Regions from separate parts of the Homo sapiens genome. Here all the other regions are linked to region 2. Evidence: promoter capture Hi-C in 16 types of primary human blood cells and fetal thymus (Javierre and others, 2016). All regions are on one chromosome and are shown on one strand. Each heading gives the region's core, a stretch centred on a gene start or on the middle of the fragment in contact. The rest is flanking DNA. Distances are from core to core; before and after follow the strand shown. Region 1 overlaps RAPGEF2 (Rap guanine nucleotide exchange factor 2). Region 2 holds the start of FNIP2 (folliculin interacting protein 2). Region 3 overlaps RAPGEF2 (Rap guanine nucleotide exchange factor 2). Region 4 overlaps TMEM144 (transmembrane protein 144).

Region 1 (2,700 bases), core at 138-2,637, 540 kb after region 2:
CTTCTGTTTTCTCTCGGAAGAGTTGAGTTCATTTGTTGAGAGTGAGAGGGTTGGCAGGTAGAGAGTTTTAAGGAGAGAGAAGTTTTGAAATAATAGTTGCAGAGAGTAGGAGAACAAATTGACCAGAGAAATGGAGATTCAATTGAGTTAGTGCCCTCAAATATAAAGTGATTTCCCTCTGCTCTGTTAAGTAGCTTTCTCCACAGTAAGCACAAAGAAAGCAAGGATTTGACTTCACCCAGGACTGAAGTTTGTTAAGTGAGTGTAATACAAAGACAGGTCGAGCAACAAGGCAAGCGTTTTCTAACTGCAGATCATAGCTTTTGTATGCCTTCTGCCTGGAATGTTTTCTCCTAGCTTGATCCTTTTCAGCCTTTGTTTTCAAGTGTCATCTCCTCAGAGTTGTTCCTTTATAATCCTCTGTAAAGGAAGTCCTCCATTTTGATTCCTTTCCTGCCTAATCTTTTTATTTCCTTCCTAGACGCCAATTGAACCAATTATTAATTTTTATGTTATCTCTCTGCCTAGAAGAATGACACCTTCAAGAAGGCAGGGAACTTGTCTCTCTTGTCTCTATTTTTTCCCCTAGAGCCTAGCACAGTGCCAGGAAATTTTAGGCATTCAGTAAAGATGTGTTGAATGAATGTAATTGAAATAATAGACTAGGGAATATAAGCTGGATATGAAAGGAAGACAGGTGTGAACACTAGACACAGAAGGTAGTAGAGTCTTGAGTGAAGATCCTTCTTAAGTTGAAAAAGGGTTACCTTAGAAGCAGATGGGGGCAGGTTGAAAGAATAGAAGGTTGTTGGTGATTGAAAGCTTTAATGCCTAAGTTAGTAATACGAGACAATGCCATTTCCAGCCATGATAAGGTCCTGGTTAAATGGTATGGCCATCAGGATCAGAGCGAGTGGCTTAGGCAAACCGGAAATAGTTGTACAAAATAGATAGATCAATAGAACAGAGAGTTCAAGCAAAATTGAACTCATGTGTAAGGATGTAATATGTAATAGAGGAAACTTCACAAATCAATAAAGAAAGTGATGGATCATTCAATAAATGGTCTTTGGGGTTGGGGAATCATTTTGTATTCTTATTTTGTATCATAATTAAAATAAATTCCTGATAAACTAAAGAGTTAGCAAACAATGTTTTAATAAAGGATCAAAACATTTTGTAATTAGAACATCAATTGATAAGAAGATTTAAAGTCAGAATATAACTGATTTACACAAATAAGAAAAATACTCAGCTCACAATGTTAAAATGTTCAAAGGACAGTAGTTGGTAACTTACAGAAACGAAAATGCAAATGTCTACACCTTAAGTATTTGAAACATAATAGTAATTGAGCATATAAGGACTTAAATATGAAATTATTCTGCCTATCAAATTAGCACAGATTTTCTTACTTAAAATAAGCATTTATAGACATTTTTATATACTCCTCGTAGGATTGTAATTTTGGGGAAGCAACCTAACGATTTACATTAAGAGCTTTAAAAAATTGTTCTTCTCTTTTAGGCATATATATGCTTTTAATAAGCAAAACTTTTTTGGCAAGTGATTTTAAAGTGCTTACTGATAAAACATGCAGTATTTGATTTTTATTTTAGTTAAATTAATACTTCAGTAGAGCTTTATGGCATAAAAATTTTTTTGTTTGTGAATTTTCTTGATTTTTTTTAAAAAATGTAAAATAAATTGGTTTTAAGAACTGTGTTCACAATAGCAGAATGTATTTAGTCCCTTTTGATTTAAATAGTGGAGCTTTCAGCATTGATCTGAGAATATTGTTTTTAAAAGAATATCACTATTTAAATATTAATGGACAACAAAATCTATGTTAGTCAGTACCTGTATAAGATAAATTAATTTAAGACAGGAGTTATTTGGCTAACATAACTATGTAAACCTTTCTCCTTGTTCCTGAAACAAATATATCCAGATAAGCTTTTAAATATAAAGCGTCTGTTTTAGTGTCTTTATTTAGAAAAAAAGGGTTTAAAGACATGCGTGAGTCTTAGTAGTGTTGTTATTTGGAGGAAGCTAGAAAACAATAAGTGTTATGTTCATAGGCAAATATGTATTTAAACTTTTTATCTTTTATGACTTAGCAAAGTGGAAAACATTTTATTACTGTATTATATTTCAATTTTTTTTTATAAGACTATTGAGAATGTCGAGCAAAGTGCAGAGTACTTAGTATTTCTTGGTTGGTCACACCTGATTTTGAGTCCTAGCACAGTTACTGTGTTTTGTTTTGCTTACATTGAACAACTTATTTAATGTCCTTGACATTTTCTCCTCTGTAAACTAGGGTTAGTAATACTAACTTGCTGAATTGATATGAAGATTATTATGTTTTAAAACATCAACTTTAGTGCTAGACACATATGATAGTCATTCAATATAGGATCACTATTTTTATAATTGGTGTATGAACCAGTTGACCAGAATGTATTTGTGCAGTTAGTCTAAGATACTATTTTACAAATATATAAGGAGAGTGTGGTGTTTAACAGAATTTTGTGGGGTTTTTTGGTCAAATTCCACAAATATAAATTGCGTGCAGCGTTCATTGCTGCTATGGGGAGAGGTAGAAGGTGTACAAGTTCTAAGATGAAGAAAGTATCCCCTTGAGGAAGGGACTTTTGATCTAGCTTGAGACTGGCTTGCTTTCTCCCTTATTTGATC
Region 2 (2,700 bases), core at 80-2,579:
GTAAAAGTCCGAAGGAAACAAATGACTAAGTTTCCATTTCTACCACCTTTCTCTTACCTTTGTGAAATTTCAGCACATTATTCACAGCTAGTTCCCAACCAAGTCCAGAAACTAACACAATTAAAAAAAGAAAATGCAAAGTAAAATAGGCCCAGAATAGGTTCTTTTGATTACTTATGTTTTTGGAAATATATTTTCCTTTTTGAGTCTCCAAGAGTCCTCCTCTCAACAAGTGTAAGAGAGCCCAGGTGAGTCACTGTTCACTACTCATGGAGAAGCTAGAAGAGGCATGGTTGGGGTCTTACTAACTTTATCTCTATTTCCCATCATCGGAAAAATTCGTGAAGCCCAACGCTCTAAAACATAGATTAAGAAGTTGCTTTGAGTCTGGTAACGTGTCCTACACTGGCTGTTTAGAGCCCTGCACCACCAAGGATTAAATTCCAAAGGGGACTGGGGTGGGACAGGGCAGGAAAGCGGACTCAAACACATGAACTCCTCCCTTCCTCAAACCAAATATCTGCTGCTGATATGCCTTGATTGACTGTTAAATATGTATTAGGAAAAACAATCCCTTGCTATAAAATATCTTAAGTTTCTAAATCTATGTAGTGAGTTCTGTGTGTGTGTGTGTGTGTGTGTGTGTGTGTGTGTGTGTATGTTTTAAAGGGGGGACTTAATATTTCAAATGCAACTTCTTATATAACCATGGTATGGTGGCCCAAGACGCCAAACAGAACAAATGATTTGGATAAACAGTTTAAATTTTGTGAAAGCCTGGAGGAATCGAATTTGGACATGGAGGAAACCTGACAAAACCTTGGGTGCTATGTGATTCAAATCACAGCCCACCGAAGCGGCCACCGCGCGTACCAAGCCTTCCCCCCTAGCATACGCCTTCTGTGAACGGGCTCTTGTACCTGAACAAAGCGAGGACCCAAGTTCAGGGGCTTTGTCTCTAAAGAACAAAGATCGGCCTAGCTGCATGCTCGCTGTGCGAAAGAACCCAGGCTCCGTGGGAACCCCACGCCACTCGCGGAGCTGCGCCCCGGCGGCCGCCCTCGCCCCTCGGGCCCCTTTAAGTGCCGCGCCTGCCCCCGTCCGCGTCCCCCGCGTGCCCGGAGTACTGGGCCGCCCGCCCGCTCCTGGCCGCACCTCCCACCTCCCGCCTCCCGCCGGGGTTACGTGAGCCCGGGGCGGGCGGCCGCCGGGCCAATGGCCGCCGCCGGGGCCGCCGCGCTCCTCCCGCGCCGCCGCCGCCGCCGTGGGGCTGCGGGCTCCTCCCGCAGGAGATAACTGTCAGCGCGCGAGGCGGTGGCGGGCCGGCTCAGTCATATGACCGGCAGCCGGCGGCTCCGGCGCCGAGCAGAGTTACTCAGTCGCAGCGGCCCCGCGCTCCCGCAAGGCTGGGCGGCCGCGCCGCCGCGATGGCCCCGCCACCGCGGCCGCCGCCCCCGGCTGCGCGCTGAGCCGCCGGCCCCCCGAGCGCCACGGCCGGAGCTGCGGCGGCGGCATCATGGCCCCGACCCTGCTCCAGAAGCTCTTCAACAAAAGGGGCAGCAGCGGCAGCTCCGCGGCGGCGTCTGCCCAGGGCAGGGCTCCTAAGGAAGGACCCGCCTTTAGGTGAGGGGGCGCCGGGGGGCAATTCTGGCGCGGGACCCGAGTTGGCTTCGGTGCTCGCCGGGGAGGGGACGGGTAGGGGAAAGGGAAGGGACTGTCCAGGACGGCGCTGCCTATCGCCGGCACCTGGTCCCGGGCTTGTCAGCGTGGACGCGCCTGATCCGAGTGTGGCTCCGGACCCTCCGTGACCCTTCCTCCCGCTCTTTCTCCACAACTCAGGGTCCTTCCCCATTTCAGAGTTCTCTTGTGTTCCTTGGGGTTCCCGGGCGTGCGCTGTGCTTGGCTGTGGCGACCGGAGATTCTCCGGTTATTGGGGTGAACCCCTTCCGGGCAGAGCCGCCTGGGCACCTCTGCGGGCCCAGCAAAGCTGTGAGCTGTCATTTTGAGGGCAGCTCCAACCTATTGTGTACGTGACAGTGTTTTGAAGTTCTGAAGGAGCAACAGTCACGAAAAAGGCATCTTTCTTCTTTCTTGCCATATATGACAAGCTCTCAAACGGATGAATGAAAGTATGTAATTTCCACATCATGTGGAAGGTTGATGCCGCATGATGTGTGGAAAGGGGGAGTAAGATGCAATTATGAAATTTCCGAGATTTCAATTGATCAAAGCTGATATGTATATTTAATAGATTTGATCTCTCGAACACATACCTTTGAATATTGATAGCATTTATGGAGAGCTTACTACCTAAAATGCTTTATGTTGATTTCTGTCGTTTACTTTTCTGACAATGCGGTGAGGTGGGTGCTATTATAATTCCCATTTTACAGGTGAGGAAACTTAAAGTCACAGATAACTTAGGCGGCTTGCCCAAAATCCAGCTGTCAGTGGTAGAGCCTGTGTTTTGACCCAAGCAGTTTGACCACAGATTCCAGTCTTTAAAATCCCTATGCTATTCTGATTTCAAGGGCTAACTTTTAAAAGACGCCTTAAAATGTCCTATATTGCCTTTGAGCACAGGTATGTTGAGAAGTTTATTTAACAATTTTTCAACACATTTTAAAATTGAGCACCAACTCCCAATTCTGACACTATGCTAGGTGCTTTTTGGCCAAAATGTCTTGCAAAAACAGTTCA
Region 3 (2,700 bases), core at 196-2,695, 520 kb after region 2:
TTCCACATCTTTGGCTGGATCCTTTGTATTTATTCACCTCTCACTTCAGATGTAATTTTCTCAGAGCAGCCTTCTCAGATCACCCAGTCTTAAATAGTATCCTCTCCATTCCCAGCCATCACCATCTATTACATGCTCTTCTTGTGGTATTGTCTCTACAGTACTTACTGATAGCTGAAATCTTTTTTTAAAATTTTTTATTGTTACATATTCCTCCTTTCCCCTTCTCCCCTCAAGCCCCTCCTCTCTTTAAGGGTGTAAGTTTCAGGGAGCAGGGATTTTGCTAATCCTAGTCATTGCCATATCACTAGTTCCTATAACAGTGACCGGCTTGTTACAGGATGTCAGTAAATACTTGTTGGATAATTAAGTAGATGAATGAATCTTATGGTTCTGAGTAACTTTATATATCTTCATCTGACAGGCTTCTTGTTGAGATCTATGATAGGAAGTTAAAAATATGTTGAGTTCAGAAGTTTTGTCATTAATTTTTTTGATGCTGGCTTCCAGGAAGGCTAAACTAAATTTATTGCATAACTACAGTTGCTGTTCATTGTGTTTTAGTTTTATTCTGGTGATCTTACCTATAATTGCTGATGGAAGGGGGTGACTATAGAGCTGGTAAGGAAAAGAACATTGGGATCAAACAGTCCCTGTTCAATTTCTCTCAGCCTCAATATCTTCTACTTTAAACTAGGTAGGGTTACCAGTTCAATGATCTGCTCATTAAATACTTACTATACCTTAGGTACTATATGAGAAGCTAGGAAAAGAGTGATGAAAAAGACACACCTAGAGAGGGCATTGGATTATTAAATCAGCAGCTACTGTAAAGGTATTTAAGTTCTGTGACAGGCAGCATTCTGGGTATCACAGGAACATCTTACAAGAATTTCTAACTTCAGGAGGAGGGTTCAGAGAATTAGCCAGGCCAGGGGTGAGAGTGTTCTTCCCGGAAGAGGGAACAATGAAGACCCAGGAGGAGATACAGAGTATCTCGCTGTATTTAAAATAACCAGAAATAGATTTATATATTTAGTACAGAGGCTGAGGGGAAGAGAAGTGAGTGTGAGAAGATCAAAAGGAGAAGACAGTGGGGTGCAGTGGTTAGGAATATAACTTTTTCCAAAGGGAAAGAGAAGCCACTAAAACATTTTAGGCAGGGGAGTGACAGGATCAGGTGTGTATTTTCCTATCGTGTTTTAAAAGTTTACTTCTGGCTGCGACATGAAGAAGAGGGTGTTACAAGAAGCAAGATAGGACAGTGGTAGTACAGTGGCACCACAGTGAAGTGGGTTCATATTTGTAAATCCCCTCTCAGAGTGCTGTCACACATAGTGGGAGCTTGGTCAATTTTTTAAGTTCTGGGTTTTCCTAAGGTGAATTGAGGCTGTGTAACTTCAAGGTTATGGAAGTTAAACTTTTTGTATCTAAAGGCATTTTCAAAGTATTCCTGCTTTTGTGTATGTGCATGCATGTGCACTGACACCACAGATTTTATTTAACCAGTCATCAGGTTCTCTGAATGGATTTTAATGAAAGCTACTCTGTTTCCCTGATTTCAACCTAGGATGATACATCAGTATGCATACACATACACACTTAACAGAAACATTTAGAGAAAGTAGCTGAAGTTGAGGAAGGTAAACCACAGCTTAATACAGCAATAGAATATTAAAAGTTTGTATTAATTTGGGAAGAATGTACTTTCTAAGAGAGTTACTCAACTGGTGATGTAAATCAATCATGGCAGGTGACTGAGAAAGTCATGAAAAGTGCTGGAGCATTGGCAGAAGTGAGGGGGTCTCTTTTAGGTAATGTGTGCTTGACGATGTCATAGTCATTCAGACTATTCATTTAATGGCATGTGTCTAAGGTTTACAAAAAAAAAAAAGATGAAGGAAAAGAGAAAAATCTATTAGACTTCTTGCAGTTTATGAGTATATATTCCTGCTGGCCCTAGACAGTGAGTAATGCACCACAAATGTTCAGTCAGTTCTTGTATAGTGCCCTCCCGACAGCCAAAGCAATGAGATTACCTGGCATGCCAGGGTTGACACATGAAGCCTTTGAAAATAAATGTGAAATTAAATTCTTATCATTGAAATCCTTAGAAATAAATCCTAACATGGATATCTTTGTCACAGAAGTAAAAGGAAAAATTGATAGACACATAACATGAATACCCAGTGTTTTTGTTAGCAACTTAAGAAGGGTAACATAATTATTTTTTGTCTTAAAGATTATTGTCTAGCTCAGTTGTAATACCCGTCACTAGAAAAGGAGTACCTGTGGTGGTGGTTGTTGCATAAAATCTAGAAGCAAATTTTTAGAGGTAGGATCTGAGATGTCATTTAAAATCAAGGTAGTTTCCTGTGTATGTGTGAATATATACATCTGTGTGTGTGAGGATTGGGTGGAGATTAGTAATTATTTTTATCATTTTTTGAGACAAGGTTTCACTCTGCCATCCAGGCTGGAGTGCAGTGGCGCAATCACAGTTCACTTGACTTCCTAGGCTCAAGCAATCCTCCCACCTCAGCCTCCTTAGTAGCTGGGACTACAGACGTGTGTCATCACACCCGGCTAATTTTTGTATTTCTTGTAGAGACAGGGTTTTGCCATGTTGCCCAGGCTGGTCCCAAACCCCTGGACTCAAGCTATCCTCCCACCTCAACCTTCCAAAGTGCTGGGATTACA
Region 4 (2,700 bases), core at 10-2,509, 550 kb before region 2:
GCTGGGCACGTTGGCTAACGCCTATAATCTCAGCACTTTGGGAGATCGAGGTGGGTGGATCGCTTGATTTCAGGAATTCAAGACCAGTGAAACCCTGTCTCTACTAAAAATACAAAAATTAGCCAGGCGTGGTAACAGGCACCTGTAGTCCCAGCTACTTGGGAGGCTGAGGCAGGAGAATAGGTTGAATTCAGGAGGCAGAGGTTGCAGTGAGCCAAGATCATACCACTGTACTCCAGCCTGGATGACAGAGCAAGCCTCCATCTCAAAAAAAAATTTTTTTTTAATTTAAAAAAATTGGAAATTGAGGCACAGTGAAGATAATTAACTTTCCCAAAGTCACAGCTAATAAGTGAGAGAGCTAGCATTTGAACCCAGGAATCTGGCCCCTAGTCCATGCCCTTAAACATTATGGTGAAACATCTTAACAATATTTAATTTGATGTGACTTTCTGGATTTTCAGGTTTGGCTGGTTTGGATTGGATGCAGAAGAAGTATCAAATCCGCTGCTAAATTACATTGGAGCTGGGCTATCAGTAGTAAGGTACACAGTCATTTCTAGTGATTTTGCTGTTCTTCAAAACATGGAGAGTGCTTTTTTAAGGATCCTGCTATGTTTACATTTTTTAAACCTACATTTCGTAAAATCCACATGCTTGTTCCTCAGATTCTTCATTTACAATGACTGGTTTTAGAGGACAAAAAGTGCCAGATTTGGGGGCAGGGGCAGCCCCAGCTTTAGCTCTCCAAAACTCTGAGAGCCTGGAAAATCATTTAACTGCTCTTAAGCTTAGTTTTATCATCTATAATATGTAGAAAATCATAACACATAGCTTATCAATGAGAATCATATATTTTGCAAACTAAAACATGCTATTCAGAAAAAGCATTCTGCTGGCTTCCTGATGCCCCTGGAGTAGTCACTGATTCTCTCTTCTATGTACTACTCACTTCCTATCTCACCTAGTTTCCACTTCCCCTGTCTCCTCACTCACTCTTCTCAACCTAGCTAGACAGCTCCTCTTTCACCTGTGAGAACACATACTCTTTTGAATGCCCATGTTTGGTTGCATCTGTGTCTAGCTGTATGCACTCTACGAATAAGGGTGAAAATGACTTTGAATCTCTGTATGGCAGTGTTCAGTCCATAAAACTTAACAGGAACTGGGTCACCTTAAATTCAGTCTTCTTTCCCCTCTGGATTCCATTTATATTCCCTGTCAGTTCTTCACATAATGGATAGTACTGCCTAGAAAGATTTTAGTACTTTTTTATTCTTAGGGAAAGAACAGTATATTTGCCTTCCTTCAGCAATGATGGCTTTTCCCCAGGCACATTCAGGAACAATCTCTTTGTCATTGAAATGTTGCCTTAGAGAGTAGTCCCAGGCCAATTGGAGAAAAAGATAACATAAATTATTCTAAAATAGCAGATTCCTGACTTTTTTTGGTTAGAGGCAATTTTATGTATTTTGTATAATTCACACAGAATTCTAGCTCTGAATAGCTCTCTCAAAAACAATTTCTTTACACACCAAAATTGTAACATAGGATGGCTTAGTTTTGACTTAATGACAATTGAAGGCCAGTTTACCCAGTCTATCAGGCATTGTTTTCCTCCATATTTCTTCTTTATTTAGAAAAAGTACATTCTCTAAAATTGCAAATCAATTATTCATGTTCTACCACTTCCACCTATGTGGCCATGGGCAAATAACTTCAGTTCTCCAAGCTTTGGTTTCTTCATTTGTAGAGGGATAATAATAGCACCAACCTCATAAAGTATTTTGAGGGTTAAATGAAATAAAATATGTTTAGTGCTTCATATAGTGCTAATTACATGGTTAATGCTCTACATATTAGTTGCCATTACAATTATTTTATTAATAACATTTATGTTCAATTACTGTTTCCCTGTTGGGTATTTGTTGCCCAACTTTATGTTACAGTAGGCAGTGCACCTGAGGAACCCTGTAGCTCAATTTGAACTTGGTCTGTAGCAGGGAAATTCAAGAACTCTTCCCGTAGTGCATCTAGGCTCCCTTCTATGTTTCTCTGCTAAGAGGAATTTCTGGAATATGTCATTTCATTATTTTAACTCAGTTAAATCAGTTTGTTCTGAAGGGTATTCACTGAATAAACTTGGAGCTTCATGGTCCATGTTTCATGCACTTGAAATAGGGTTGCATTCGTTTAGGATATTGCTTTTCTTTTTAAAATTAAAATTATTGCTTCTATCCTCTGTATAGTCTAATTTTTAAAGGTTGGTTAATTTCTAGTCTTACATTTTCTTTATATGATATACAAAGTGTCTATCAGTCTGTATACAAAACCTCTCCAGGTATTTTAAACAGGAGAGGATTTAACACAGGAAATTGTTTGCAAGACCCAGTTGAGCAAAAGAAGGAAGGTTGTGTCACCCATAACCCTGAAGCCCACACAATACTGCTGAATTGCCTCTGCCTGACCGACTGCTCCTGCTGAAACTACTGGAGGCACCACCAAAACATAATGTCTTCTCCCATCTTCTCAAATGATGCAAGTGCCTCCCCCTGGCAGAACCTAGCTGCCAATAAAGTTTGGGAAATGTAATTTTCAGTCTTCCATGCTCCATGGTTCAGGAGAGAGTATGTAAGGGTGAGAGCAGAGCTGACACCAAGAAACAATATTCAGAACACTCTGTTAAACATTTGCTTTCTT

The links. Contacts are between HindIII fragments. The CHiCAGO score rates a contact against its expected background, and 5 or more counts as called.
Region 1: a contact is called between a fragment that was not itself captured here and the fragment with the promoter of FNIP2 in region 2, in 6 of 17 cell types (M2 macrophages, erythroblasts, megakaryocytes and 3 more). The highest score is 8.7, in M2 macrophages.
Region 3: a contact is called between a fragment that was not itself captured here and the fragment with the promoter of FNIP2 in region 2, in 4 of 17 cell types (total B cells, erythroblasts, activated CD4 T cells and 1 more). The highest score is 7.8, in total B cells.
Region 4: a contact is called between a fragment that was not itself captured here and the fragment with the promoter of FNIP2 in region 2, in 1 of 17 cell types (M2 macrophages). The highest score is 5.4, in M2 macrophages.

What each region holds. Positions count from the first base shown.
Region 1 is chr4:159,308,831-159,311,530 of GRCh38, forward strand. All of the region lies in intron 8 of RAPGEF2 (Rap guanine nucleotide exchange factor 2), which reads left to right. Among named protein-coding and RNA genes, the nearest start is that of MIR3688-1, 180 kb to the left of the region's middle. The HindIII fragment of the contact is 1,134 bases long and covers 821-1,954 here.
Region 2 is chr4:158,767,697-158,770,396 of GRCh38, forward strand. FNIP2 (folliculin interacting protein 2) reads left to right here and starts at 1,330. Exons shown (of 17, transcript NM_020840.3): 1 at 1,330-1,623. The coding sequence starts at 1,517. RefSeq lists a silencer at 1,071-1,280 and an enhancer at 1,238-1,975. The HindIII fragment of the contact is 6,862 bases long and covers 1-2,700 here.
Region 3 is chr4:159,288,873-159,291,572 of GRCh38, forward strand. The region is part of intron 7 of RAPGEF2 (Rap guanine nucleotide exchange factor 2); the gene reads left to right. Among named protein-coding and RNA genes, the nearest start is that of MIR3688-1, 160 kb to the left of the region's middle. The HindIII fragment of the contact is 2,906 bases long and covers 1-2,700 here.
Region 4 is chr4:158,218,846-158,221,545 of GRCh38, forward strand. TMEM144 (transmembrane protein 144) reads left to right here. Exons shown (of 13, transcript NM_018342.5): 6 at 465-545. Among named protein-coding and RNA genes, the nearest start is that of TMEM144, 9.7 kb to the left of the region's middle. The HindIII fragment of the contact is 942 bases long and covers 789-1,730 here.